Regions from separate parts of the Homo sapiens genome. Here regions 2, 3 and 4 are each linked to region 1. Evidence: promoter capture Hi-C in 16 types of primary human blood cells and fetal thymus (Javierre and others, 2016). All regions are on one chromosome and are shown on one strand. The core of a region is centred on a gene start or on the middle of the fragment in contact, and the rest is flanking DNA. Distances in the headings are between cores, read along the strand shown. Region 1 holds the start of OTP (orthopedia homeobox). Region 2 has its middle 28 kb from the start of FOXD1. Region 3 has its middle 12 kb from the start of FOXD1. Region 4 overlaps LINC01386 (long intergenic non-protein coding RNA 1386).

The links. The method cuts DNA at HindIII sites, captures the fragments that hold promoters and counts their contacts. A CHiCAGO score of 5 or more calls a contact.
Region 2: a contact is called between a fragment that was not itself captured here and the fragment with the promoter of OTP in region 1, in 2 of 17 cell types (naive B cells and total B cells). The highest score is 31.4, in naive B cells.
Region 3: a contact is called between a fragment that was not itself captured here and the fragment with the promoter of OTP in region 1, in 3 of 17 cell types (total B cells, naive B cells and total CD4 T cells). The highest score is 29.1, in total B cells.
Region 4: a fragment that was not itself captured here is called in contact with the fragment with the promoter of OTP in region 1 in 2 of 17 cell types (total B cells and naive B cells); the score reaches 25.6 in total B cells.

What each region holds. Positions count from the first base shown.
Region 1 is chr5:77,637,188-77,640,405 of GRCh38, reverse strand. OTP (orthopedia homeobox) reads left to right here and starts at 1,693. Exons shown (of 3, transcript NM_032109.3): 1 at 1,693-1,893; 2 at 3,176-3,218. The coding sequence starts at 1,857. RefSeq lists enhancers at 596-1,150, 1,151-1,707. The HindIII fragment of the contact is 2,017 bases long and covers 672-2,688 here.
Region 2 is chr5:73,418,802-73,422,019 of GRCh38, reverse strand. No RefSeq gene overlaps it. Among named protein-coding and RNA genes, the nearest start is that of FOXD1, 28 kb to the left of the region's middle. The HindIII fragment of the contact is 199 bases long and covers 1,570-1,768 here.
Region 3 is chr5:73,435,257-73,438,474 of GRCh38, reverse strand. No RefSeq gene overlaps it. Among named protein-coding and RNA genes, the nearest start is that of FOXD1, 12 kb to the left of the region's middle. RefSeq lists an enhancer at 1,950-2,853. The HindIII fragment of the contact is 4,913 bases long and covers 1-3,218 here.
Region 4 is chr5:73,453,526-73,456,743 of GRCh38, reverse strand. LINC01386 (long intergenic non-protein coding RNA 1386) reads left to right here. Exons shown (of 5, transcript NR_126410.1): 5 at 2,425-2,554. Among named protein-coding and RNA genes, the nearest start is that of FOXD1, 6.4 kb to the right of the region's middle. The HindIII fragment of the contact is 1,057 bases long and covers 1,017-2,073 here.

The sequences.
Region 1 (3,218 bases), core at 444-2,943:
GTGTGTGCATATGTGTGCGCGCGCACGTGTGTGTGCAGGAGAGGAGGCGAACGGGCTGCAGGAGGGAAGGAGGAAACAAAACTGCCCGAGAGTTCGCTTTGCCGCCTCCTTTGTCTCCTTGCTCGGTCCCTGTCACACATACAGCTGAGGACACACACACACACACACACACACACACACACACACACAATTCCTCTCGCATCTGCTCTCAGCCAGCATTTTCAATGTTTTGTCTAAGTCAATTGGACGGCGAACAAAAAAAGCCATTTGCTCAGTATTATTTAAAACAGACTTCATTGGGCCACCCTTTTGTGGAAGGTTTATTTGCACTAAATGAATAATCTTAATTGCATCACTCTCGAATTAAAAATCAATGTTAATCAAGTTGGGAGTAGTAAATATCAGTTTTCATTGTGACTGGGTAGAGGGCATTTTTCTTGTGTTGCAAATAAAAATACAAGTCAAATAACTTTAAAAGGGCATTATGTTCTGCTACAAATACAATTGAAACGGATTGTTTAGGAGCAGATCAGAAATGGTACAGAATTTTGCACTTAATTTCCTCAGTTATCATTTACAATAAGAACCTCTAGGCTTGACAGCCAAGTCTAAACAGTAGTAAATTAGTACAAATTTATACTGATTTTACTCTAATAATCGTAATAAAAGCTTATAGATTTGGCACTAATTACATAAATGCCTAATGATCTTGAAAATTACTCTGGTTAGAAATATATTACTAATCTAAACTTTGTTGTTGGCTGGCTCTGAAAAATCAGAACATTAGAAATGGTTCGCTTCACTTGTGCAAAGCACTTTAAATTGTTCAAGTAGTTTAACATATTCAAGAGGAAAATAAAGAGCATTTAACTTTATTTACAGCCTTAAGTGGAGTTGGGAGCCGAGCTGAACTTAGAAACTTTGACCAAAAGAGCGAGTTAGGGGCGAGGATGCGGGCGTGGGCCAAGCGGAAGAGCAGGAGCCGGGAAGAAGCCCGGTGAGAAGAGTGCAGAGCGCTCGAACCCACACTCCGCGAGGGTCCCCAAAGCAGACAGCGGGCGCTGGCGGTGCCAGGGAAGCCGACTCCTCTTTGCGCTCTAGGCCCACTGTGGGGTTGGGGCTCGTATAGACCCCAGGGCACAGCCAGGGCGCCTGGACCCTAGGCGCAGGCCTACTGAGCCGCGGCGAAGTCCAGGCGTTGTCTGAAGGCCGCGGTGTGCCCTCGTCGCGCCCTGGGCTGGCGGGCCAATATGAGCGGCAGGCCCAGAGAGCGCAGGTGGGGGCGACCCTCAGGTCACGCCAGGGTCATGGCCCGCTCTGACCCCTGCTCTGCCCCTGCCCTAGGAAGATGTTAGCTCAGAGGCACAGAGCTACGCCTTCGAAGCGCGCAGCGCCGGCCAAGGGGAAGGAAAGGGGAGCCTGGAGAAAATCGCAGGGAAGAACTAGAGGGAGCCGGGCCCAGAAGCTCAGGGCGAGGCCGAGGCGGCTGAGGCTGCTTTAGCTCCTGCTCCGGGCTGGAGCTGCCAGGGCTGCCGCCGCCGCCTCCTTCAGGCGGGCGCAGGCGAGCGGGCGGGCGGAGTGGGGGACTCTCCGGGCGCTGACATTTGCAGGCTGCCCTCCTGATTGGTCCCCTCGCCGAGCTGCTCACGGGTTCATTCAACTGTTAAGCACCTCCCCGTCTCTCTAAAGGACATTATAATGCAAGAAGCCCCCTTTTTAACCACAAACCGAATTTTCTTTCATTTAGGTGATCTATATATATCTATATCGTATAGCTTATAGCTTATATCTATTTTAAATAACTTAAAGCCGCTAAAATTTGGGGGGGAACAGCTTTCGCCCTGGAGCGGTGCGCGATGCTGTCTCATGCCGACCTCCTGGACGCCAGGCTAGGTGAGTGCGCGCCTCTCGCCCGGGCAGCCAGGAGAAGCCGGGGCAGGAAATTGTCAATTTGTTCCTTATTTTACCTTAATGCGACCTAAATGGACTAATTTCTTTAAAAGTAATTGTGCTGCATTAAAGTTTAATTTGATTTAACATCGCCTTTAAAAAAAAATCTATGGAATATGTAGATCCAAGAAAGGAGTTGGGGAATGTTGTTACTTTTTGTTTTTCTTATTTTTCTCTTCCCCCCTCCCCCGCCTTTTTTTTTTTTTCGAAAGGCGATATACCCCGTGATAATTTGTTAGGAGGTGTTTCTCTCTCTTTTTTCCCTCTCCTGTTTGTTTTGATTTGGGATTTCTTTCTCCTTCCCTCCCCCCGTTTCTCTCTCCCCACCATCTTCTTCTCTCCTCCTTTTCTAAGTGTGGTGTAATTTGTAAAAAATCTGGCATAAAGGAGAAGCTGCTGCCATCAAGGCGGATTTGCTAAGTGTGCTGGTTGAGAAGGAGAGAAGCCAAATTCAACCTCACAGTCATCCCCCCCTCTTCTGCAAGGGACTCAGCGTTGCCAATGGCTGTGAGGAATGCGCCTTTTATTTCTCTGGAAAGAAAAGTTGAAATCTCTAAAGTTTGATTCACGGTTGTCCATAGAGTTCACTCGAGTTTCCTTAATGCTATCTGGGTTGCTGAGCTCTGGGTTTCCGGATTGGGAATCTTCGGTGATGGATGTGACTCCATTTTCCAAACACTTTCTCTGATTTGAGGGGGAGGCGGAGCTGATTTGGGTTGATTTCGGGGGGTGAAAGCTTGGAGGCTTATTCATCTTCCGAAAGTAAGAGGGAATCGGCTGAGGGCCGGAGGTACAGTTCGTCAGGCTGCCGAAGCGCAGGTGCCGCAGCAACCGAGGAATTGTTTAATTTTCTTTCTGCCCCCCGCACCCCTGTGTCCAAAGATTTGCTCTCGATTTCCTGGGGCGCCTGGGGTACGGTTTATGGAAGGGATTCAGAGGCATGTTTTATTGCCGGGACTGGGAGTGTTTTATTGTGGGAGAGACGAAAGCTTGTGCTGTTTACTACGGGAGCCGGCTGCGGCGAGGGCAAGGGGCCGGGAGATATTATTCCAACCCGGCTGTCCAAATTCTGGGGAACCCAGCTGAATACCCTGGGAGTTTCTTCCTTAGGACAAGCGCGGGTGCGGAGGGGGCCGAGGACGGGTTGAAGGAAGGCTGCGCGGGGAAGACAGCCCCTCCTGGCATCGCCAAGAAAGTAGTGACCGCGATCCCCTTGCCTCCTCAGGTATGAAAGATGCCGCCGAGCTTCTGGGCCACCGGGAGGCGGT
Region 2 (3,218 bases), core at 420-2,919, 4.2 Mb after region 1:
ATTGTTGTCTCTCTACTGACTGGTAGGAGTAAAGTGTCCTCTTTTGGCTGGGTCACTAAATAAAGGAAATTTAGGTTGGAATTATTGAAACCCATTCTCTTCTTTGATTCCAAAGAATTTAAGTTCCTCAGCTGTGATTTTTTTTTTCTGGTTTGCTGAAATTTTTACTTTCCTTATTCCCCTCATTTCTGCCAATCAGTTTCAAAATAATGTAAACTGAAGGCCGTTTGTACTAGTGCTATCTTTCCTTTTCTGTTTTAAATTTAGGGCCATGTGCCTCTTTGATCAAAAGGACCCATAAGCTTCTTTCACACCTTAGTTTTGAGTTGGAGGAGCGTATGGGCCCAAATCAGACAGGTGGACACTGTATTAAGTCATTTAGATCAAGACACTTCATGAGCAATATAAACCAAGCAAGTGAAGAAGTGTAAGAGAAAAAGATTGTTTTAATTCCCCAAATCTCTTCAGTTGTGGCTCCCCAGACTGAACAAAAAAAAACCTCTAATATAGAAACCAGGGAGAAGTTGGCACATGGTTCCAAACAGTTCATTTTACTTTCTATTTCCTAGTACTACGCTTGCTTTTGAAAGTCTTCAGATTGCATTGCCAACTGATACTTAGCTCAAGATCTCTATGGCTCTTCAGATATTTCTCTTCTGTGTACATTTGAATGAGTTCTGTCTCATCTTGCACTTGGGAAGTCTTTTCATAAGGTAAATTTACTCTCTGCTTGCTCTGATTCAACTTCCTATTTTCTTTCTTTTTTTTTTTTTGAGATGAAGTCTAGCTCTGTTGCCCAGACTGGAGTGCGGTGGTGCGATCTCGGCTCACTGCAACCTCTGCCTCATGGGTTCAAGTGATTCTCCAGCCTCTGCCTCCTGGGTAGCTGGGATTACAGGCGCTCACCACCATGCCCGGCTAATTTTTGTATTTTTAGTAGAGAAGGGGTTTTGCCATGTTGGCCAGGCTGCTCTCGAACTCCTGATCGCAGGTGATCTGCCCTCCTCAGCCTCCCAAAGTGCTGGGATTACAGGAGTGAGCCAACAATCTCTTCTTTTCAATATTTGCTCATTTACACTTTCTGCAGACACTTCTTACCAGCAATACCCTGCATACTGTCTTCCAGAACAACCCCTACCCAACTTCCCTTTTCTTAAGAGTCATTGAGAAGTACTCTTTATGAGGCACTTTCTAAGGACTGCTGAATTGTTAGAGGTTAGCAATAACGAGTTCCTGCCACAGCAGTCCATTTCTTAATGACTATTATTGCCAGTTCAGATATGTTTTATCTAGTTCTCAGTCAGTAACATTGAAAAAATTAAGGTCCAGTATTTTTCAGGTTATCTTTATAGTTCAAGTAGTATAAGCTCCCACTTGTCCGTTTTCAAACTTGATTCGACTTCATCTTCCATAGCTTTTCCTAGAGAGTGGCCAGTGGCTTTGCAATGACTTGACGTAGTTGTTTAATCACCTTCAGACCAGACTCAACATCTTTACTACGGTAAAGTTAAAAGTGGGTCTTTCTTGGGTGGATATTGGGAGGAAGAAAGACAAGAGAGAGAAAAAGCTTAGCACGATGAAGCGATGTGTTGAGGTAGGTGTTTTGGACTCATCCAGTTTTGTTGTTTGTGCTTACACTGGAACCTCTGAGCTTTGGCTTTCCTTTCTCAGGTCAGGGACGTTTCCCGCTATTTTCTCTTTTGTTGGCTTGGGCAGGAAAGAGCGTGCGTTCCTCTTTTCATTCAGCCCAAACATAAAACACGAAGCTTCCCGTGCTTTAGGGGACATGTGGTTGTGTTCTAAGAGCCATCTGCAGAAGGACGGTTTTGGGAAAGCTGCTTCCCCAGAACGGAGAAACGTCTCCGGAGCGAGCGATCTCCGGCCCGCAGATTCAATAAGCCCCAACCACACTTGGCTCCGTCACAAACCTAATACGGCAGCCCATATTGTTGCTCGGGAAGTCTCCAGCCAAACCGAGTTCTTGTAAAAATAAATACTCATCAGCAAATATTTTGATTAGTTAAAAATGTTCGAGATGGCTAACCCCTCGCTCCCCTCCTTTCACGGTGCGAACGCGAAGAGGCTCGGCTCCGGGGGGCGGGAGAGCAGTACTGCGCCCCCCGCTTCGGTGTGCGCCAGGCCTGCGGACGCCCGGGAGGCTCGGCGCGGCGGGGCTCGCTCGGCCTCGAGGGCGCGCGGTTCCGAGGGCCTGGGAACGCGAGCGCAGGCAGCCGGGCCTCGCCCTCCCCCGGGCCGCCCGCAAGAAGCCGCTCGCAGCCTCCATACACTTACTTGCCTGCCTTAAGCTCTTTATTAACTCCCCCAGAGGAGCGCCGGCTGCGGCCGCGCCTCCTGCGCCCCGGTGGTCTGGCTCCTCCGCGCGGCGCACATGCTAAACAGATTAACATGCCTTGGCTGACCCACGCTTCGCAACCCGCGGATAGGGTTTCTGCAGCTCCATGTGGAAATTAACCTATCTGTACCCGTGGTCAGCTGCGCCCGGCCGCTCCCGCGCCGGCCCGGCAATCCAAACAAACCAGGCCGCTGGCTCCCTTTGTTACTCTTGGCGCCCCCTCCCCACTACCCGGCCAAATATTTATTGGAAAAGAGGTTCTCTTCTTTGGCCGAAGGTAGGGCACATTTCTGAGAGCTCTTTATTTGTAAATGATTTTTGTCAGGGCCAGCCAGGCACCCTTAGGAGGGGGTGGCAGGGAGCTGAAACTCAGGACTGGAAGGTTTCTAGCCCTCCGCTGGCAGGGAGCTGTTTATGTTTGCACAGGGCACCCGAGTCCTGGTCATTAAAAATGTATGCACTGCCCACATTTTGCTTTTGTAACAGCCCCTCTGTTTAATGTAGTTGTTTGCTTTGTTCTAGGGCAAGTTTATTCCCTCTCCCCGACCCTCAATCTCTGCCTCCCATTCACACCCGGTAAACAAAATGAGGGGACTCTTCTAGGTTTTCTTACTTAGAGGATCAGAAAAGGTAAGCTCAGAGGCTGGTGGGTACCAGCCCGAGGCCAAGTGCTAATCGCAACAGCATCTGCCTTTCAACCGCTGCCTCTTCCAGCAATTCAGGATTGCTAATGAATTTCTAGTTCCTTCGTTAAGCATTCTGCTCTTATTATTTCATATCCCCGTTTCCTAAATTATTATTCATATTATAATTCTGTAGAGGCAGTTCAGCTTTTCCCTACATACTGCATGCGGGGGTCTGTGTC
Region 3 (3,218 bases), core at 385-2,884, 4.2 Mb after region 1:
TATTTCACCTTTAAGTTGTCATTGCTAAGGAACTGCTTCCAAATCACCAAGTTTGGGTCTTGGCGTTTTTTGTTTTTTTTTTTTTTGTCTCCAGAAGTAACTGGGAGTACAGAGGAGAAAAATAAAATGTTGAGGCATTCTGTGCTCTGTTTTTCTATTTAAGGAATTTACTATTTCTTTGCCTTCCTCCCCCCTTCCTGGCCTCCCTCCCTATCTGCATAGATAGCAGGACTCCAGCAAACTATATCCCACAGGTCTTTAGAGTTATGTAGGATAGGATCCCTTATTTTAGGGAGTTGGTGGGCGCGGGTTGTTACTGTAACTCTATTCTGTAACTAAAGCTCTGGCATGTAATAAATCTCTCCCCAAAGACTTTTGGATCTTTGATTTGAAAAATCGGATTCCTTTTGTGGAAACAGTTGACAGGAACCTAAAAGGATTAGTTGCATTCCACATAGGATAATTTTTACTGGCAACATTTTGAAACGATTTGGTCCCTTTCAGACCTTAAACAATGTCCAGAAAAATGATCTAACGAGACTTTTATTGTTTTCCTTTGTGTGTGAATCCGCTTGCGCCAACATCTCGATGGGGTTTTGACGGTTTTGCTCCTGAGCAGGGCACTGAATTAATTTCTGATCGCCGTTTCGACTCGGTTAGTTACCTCCTTCGGCCAGGGGCCTGGCGGTGTTTTCCAGGCGTCAGCCCTTGAAATGGCAACAGGAGCGGGAGGCTCGGCCTCTCGGTGGCGCTGTGTCCGGGAGGGACGCGGGGGCCGCTGCCCGCTCGCCCGGGGCCCCGGCAGCTCCGGCGCCTGACGTCGTAGGGGCCGACGAGGCAGCGCGCACGCCCCAAACTGCCATCGTCAAACGCTCCCGGGGCCCTCCATCCACGGGAATGAGACGCGGAAAGGGAGATAATTCGGCTTCTCTCTCTCCTCCAACCGCCCCCCTCCTAAAGCCCCAAGCACAAAGCCGAGAGCGGCCCGCCTTCCCCTCGCAGAAGGCCGCCGAGCTGCTGCGAACCAGCCGCGGGCCACGGCGCCCCCCGCCCTCCAGCCTTCTCCACTGTTTATTTTGTTGTCAGCGGACTTATCAAGATGTTAGTTTGCTGGAGGTTCTGACCTGCCCGGGCGCTTTGGCTGCTCGGCCCGGGCTTTCCCCTCTGTTTTTACACCTGCATAAACTCCACCGCACTCCCCTGTCTGATTTATAGCCCAATTAAAGGTTCAGTGTTCTCCAAGCCACCCGGGCTGCTCCCTTCCCCGCCTCCCGCCGGCTGTGGCGAGCGCAGGAATGCGCGAGGCCGCGCCTAAGGCCGGGCCGCGGCCGAGGCGGTTCTGCGCCCAGCGACCCTCAGGAGCGGCGGCGCGAATGAACGGCCTGCGCCCGGAGAAGGGCAGAGAAACCTCGGGCACATCACCCAACAGCCGCGAGCAGAAAGGCCGCGTCCCCAGCCCAGAGTGATTTCCTTCCTGGGGTTTCGGCCTGAGTGGGACGAGGCGCTCCCCCGACAGCATGCGAGGCCGGGACGGGAGGGCGCTGGGAGCTGCCACGTGGCGCAGCCCGACGCGGAGGCCAGGGGTCCGGCCGCTACGCCGCGCCTCCCCACGATTTTCCGGGTGAGGAAGGGGCGGCCGCGGGGCCCGGCGGGGCGGAGAGGCTCCGGGCTGGGGCGGGAGGCCGTGCCCGCTCCACCGCGGCCCTACCTTCCCGCCCGCCTCGCTCGGCGAAGGCCGGAGACCGCGGCCTGGAGACGCTCCCCGGGGTAGCGGGTGCTTCCAGCTGCCGGGCTCCGGCTGTGGGCGGGAGGCGCGGGGGGTCAAAGACCGCCCAGCCTGCGATCCGGCCAGAGCCCAGCCCCAGCGCGGGCTTCGGCTCCAACTTCCTTCTTTGCGGCCTTTTCTTTACGCAGAGAATAAGCGGCAACCCAGCCGAGATTGGCAGCATTGAGCATCTTCCTAACCCAACTCTGTCTTCTTTCCATCTATCAATCCACCTTTCTAATTAGACTAATTAGGAGCGCTCTGGAGTGTCGCTAGGCCCGGGGACTGAACCGCTTAGGGGTTGTGAAAAGACGCCTGAATGGCCTCGCTGGGGGCCGGGCGGGGGCCTTTGCGACCCATTCAGCACAGAGTAACAGTGGCTACATTTATCCCTGGCCATTGAAAAGAGGCTCGATTAAAACGTTTGGGAACTAATGCCACCCTGCATCCCCTCTCTAATTAGAGGAGCCCAGGGCGAAGGCGAGAGCGCCCGGGACCCCGCAGACACTAGTTCTGTGCGCTACTGCTTTCCGCCCTTTCAGCACAGCCGATTTCCTTCCCCGAGACAAAAGTCCGCCACCTCCCCACCTGTTGCCCGGTCCTTGCTTTCCCACCCATCCCGAGCCCCTTCGCCCTCATCCCAAGCTGAAGGCCCCGCCAACTGCGTTACAACGCACAGCCCAGACGTTGGGGTCAGCGGAGTGGAAAAAAGGCGCCTAGTTCCCTCCTTCTGTCTTGGAAAGCATCCTTTTGCATTCGGTAGGCTACACATTTTCCTCTCCATCTGTCTTCCGTATTTCTCACATACTTACCAGCTCCTCCCTCTCCTCGTCCTCACTTTTAGCAACATGGAATTTCCAAGTAAGCATTTGGGAATGAGAGGAAAGTGGGTCGGGTGCCATCCTGAAGTCACTATCTTGGCCAAACATTATGCTGTAGGAGTTCCTCGCTTGCGTAAATAATGTGTATTTTTTGTTACCAGTTTTTTTTAAAAGAAATGTGTGTGGAGCACCTACTGTGTGACTAGACAGACAGATTCTTACTATACTCCTCAGTCTTCTTCCTTCCCTCTTAAGTCCATCTCCAAATCTGTCTTAAGAAGTTAAACCTGACTTGGTTCAATTCCTTAGGCAAGCTGTTGATTCTGTCCCCATAGTTTATATGTAGATGTATTTTTTCTTTGTCTTTTTCATGGCTCATTAGAAAGAACTGCAGACACAGGATAACAGGGAAGCAAAAGAGAAATAGTAGACATATTGCAACTACAGATTTTGTGTGGGGAGGGCGTTGTTTGTTCCTTTTGTTGATGAGAAGTTATCTAATATTTTTACAAAAATTTGAAGCAAACTTTGCCCTAAAATAAAGGTGACCAAAAGGGGTTTGATTTCCTCTCTCTCTCTCTCTGTCTCTCTCTCTCTTCACCCCGCCCCCCATCCCCTTAATCCTTCTTTTT
Region 4 (3,218 bases), core at 296-2,795, 4.2 Mb after region 1:
GGTGGACTGGATAAAGAAAATGTGGTGCATATACACCATGGAATACTACACAGCCATGAACAAGAATGAAATCATGTCCTTTGCAGCAATATGGATGCAGCTGGAGGCCATTATCTTAAATGAATTAATGCAGAAACAGAAAACCAAATACCACATGTTCTGACTTATAAATGGGAGCTCAACATGGGGTACACATAGACACAAAGATGGGAACAATAGACACACTGGGGACTCCAAAATTAGGGAAGAGGGCAAGGGTTGAAAAACCGCATATTAGGTACTATTTTCACTATTTGGGTGATGGGTTCAATAGAAGCACAAACCTCAGTATCATGCAATATACTCATGTAACGACCCTGCACATGTACCTCCTGGATCTAAAATAAATAAAATGAAAGAGGAGCTTTCAAACTTTTTTATTGTAACCCACACTAAGAAATTATTTTACTCATTTTTAATTATTATTTTTTGTACAGATGGGGTCTTCTTATGTTGCCCAAGCTGGTCTCGAACTTCTGGGCTCAAGGAAACCAAGAGATCATTTTACATAGAAACTCAGTATACATACACACGCACAAAAGTATAAAAATAAAAATAACTGAAATAAAGTTTTCACAAACTATTCTTAGCATTATTATGTGCTGTGCAGTGATGTTTTCTATCCTAACCCATCCCATTCTGTTCTGTTCTATTCTCTTTCAGTTGTGGTCAAAATGCACTAAATTGATTTCATGAGCCAGAATTTTGTCTTTTCCTGCTGCTTTTGGAAGAGCTCCTCAAACTCTTCAAACCCAGTCCATTCTTCAGTTGTATCTATTCTGCTTCATATTTGTTTTTTAAAAATTAAATTGTTGTGGCTCCAGATGAGGGTTTTTTTTTAACAAAAAGAAATTTAAAAAATTGTCGTGGGTACATAGTAGGTGTATATATTTATGGGGTACCTGAGATGTTTTGATATATGCAGGCAATGCATAATAATCCCATTATGGGGAATAAGGTATCCATCCCTTCAAGCTTTTATCTTTTGTGTTACTAACAATTCAACTATGCTCTTCTAGTTATTTTAAAAATGTACAATTAATTATTATTGACAACAGTCACACTGTTGTGCTACATTCTGCTATGTATTCCATCTATTTGCCCTTTATTTTATTACTTTCTTCATACTTAATGTTTCCACTAGGTTTAAAACAATTATTTCTTTCTTTTGCTTAATGTTACTAATAAGTCCCCTCCCTCTTTGATATATGTATTATGCTTGCTTTAAATTCTTGATGTCTATTCCTATAATCATGCTTCAAATGATATGAACTGTTCCATCTGTAGTCTTTCTTTTACACTAATTGTGCTCCTCAGCTGTCTCAACTCAGCACTTTGGAAATTGCTCAGGCTGAAAAATTTGGAAAACATAGAAAAATATAATATAAATAACAAAATGAAAACCACCCATAATTTCACCCAGAGTTAACCAATTGACATTTTATTGTATTTTCTTCCAGTCTTTTGCATGTTTAGTACATTGAATTATTGAGAAAATACTGTATGTAATTTTCTATCTGAACCTTTCTCTTAACTTTAAGATTTTCTCAAGTTATTAAAACTGTTCACGGACCTCGCTTTAGTGATTGCAAAATATTCCATCATGAGAATAATATATTTAATCCCGAGCATTTAGAATGTTTCTATTTTTTTTTTTTTGCTTCTTAAAAAAAAACTGCCGCAAACATTTTGAACATAAATATTTGCTCATATTTCTGGTTATTTCCATAAAATAGAATCTTAGAATGAAAGGATTCAAGGGAACGGACACTAAGATACAAGCTCTGTTTTGCCAAATTGTTTGCTGAAAGGTTTGTACAATTTTATAGTTCCACAGGCAGTGTGTAATTGAATTCCTACCATCATGTTCATCATCCTCATGTAGTTTGCTAATCTGATAGAGTTTTCTCTTTCCTATTTTGCATGTCTCTGAAGAGTAGGGAATCATTCATTATTTGTATTTACTTTTATGTAAATTTTGGGTTCAGGCCCTTCCCAGTTTTTTCTGCTCTGGAAGGCTAGCCGACCAAAGCTTTCTAGCAAAGGTGCTCACACGTGCCTCTAGTGGAAGGTTTTGAGAATGCCTTCTTGCAAAGGGGTGTATGTACCTGACTGCAACCTATGACTTGCAGCCTGGTGTCAGATGGTGGTATCAGGTGAAGTGCCACACTGAGTGTAGACAATGAGGTTTCAGTGTGTTTGCATATGCGTAACAGACAGGTGATAGTTCAGTCTCAGTTTAAGCCTGGAAATCAGGCAATAGTGTGTGTGTGCGGGTGTGAGACAGAAAAGGTTGGTCACCAAATACCTTTTAAATACACACACAAAATTACAACTTATGACAAGACTTTCTCATGACCTCATAAACATACTTTTCATTTTCAGTGTGACTTGTAGACAGCTGCATCCCTAGAGTTACTTTAGAGAGCCCTGTCGTTCCCAAGCAGAGAGATTTGTCTGCACAGCCAGCCTCTGGGTGAAGTACAAATGCAAAATAAATAAATGCCTTCTTCTAGAACAGCAATATTATTTTTCAATTCTTCTTATAACTAAAAATACTAAGTCTATTTCCAGGAAATTATTAGACAATGTGAACAAATACCAGAAGTTTATAGAGCTGCAAAGATGTACTCAGGAGAGTCTGGTGTTGAAGTTAGCCCCCAACAAGAGGAGTCCTCTCTGGAATGGAAATATGTGTATTTTTCAGTTAAATTCATGATAAAAAATACTTTTTGAGCTTTGGGGTACAAAATCTAAACATGTGCCACTACAAACCACTTAGATGCGGAGCTAAGTAAGTCTGTGTGTGGGTGTGTGTTAGGATGGGAGGACCAGTCCAGGTTAACAATGTAAGGAAAATTTCTGAGTCCATGTAAATAATTTTGGTGTTATGAAACACAGATTTGGACTTTTGCTGACATTCTGAATTCTTGAGGATTTCTGAGCCCTGCTCAGGCCATGAAATGCTTGTTTAAGGAATTGTCGTGCAAGCACAAGCTGCCTAGTGGGACCTAGAGGCCACTAAAATATCTTCTTCACAAAGGAATCTCATCTCCCAACCACACCCTCTATAAAAGACCCACCACTGGAACCTTGATTAAGGTGGTATCAAGAGGATGCCCAGGTTAAAATGTACCCATTCTTGGGAAAGGCACCAAACACCGTCAGCCAGTAACAGC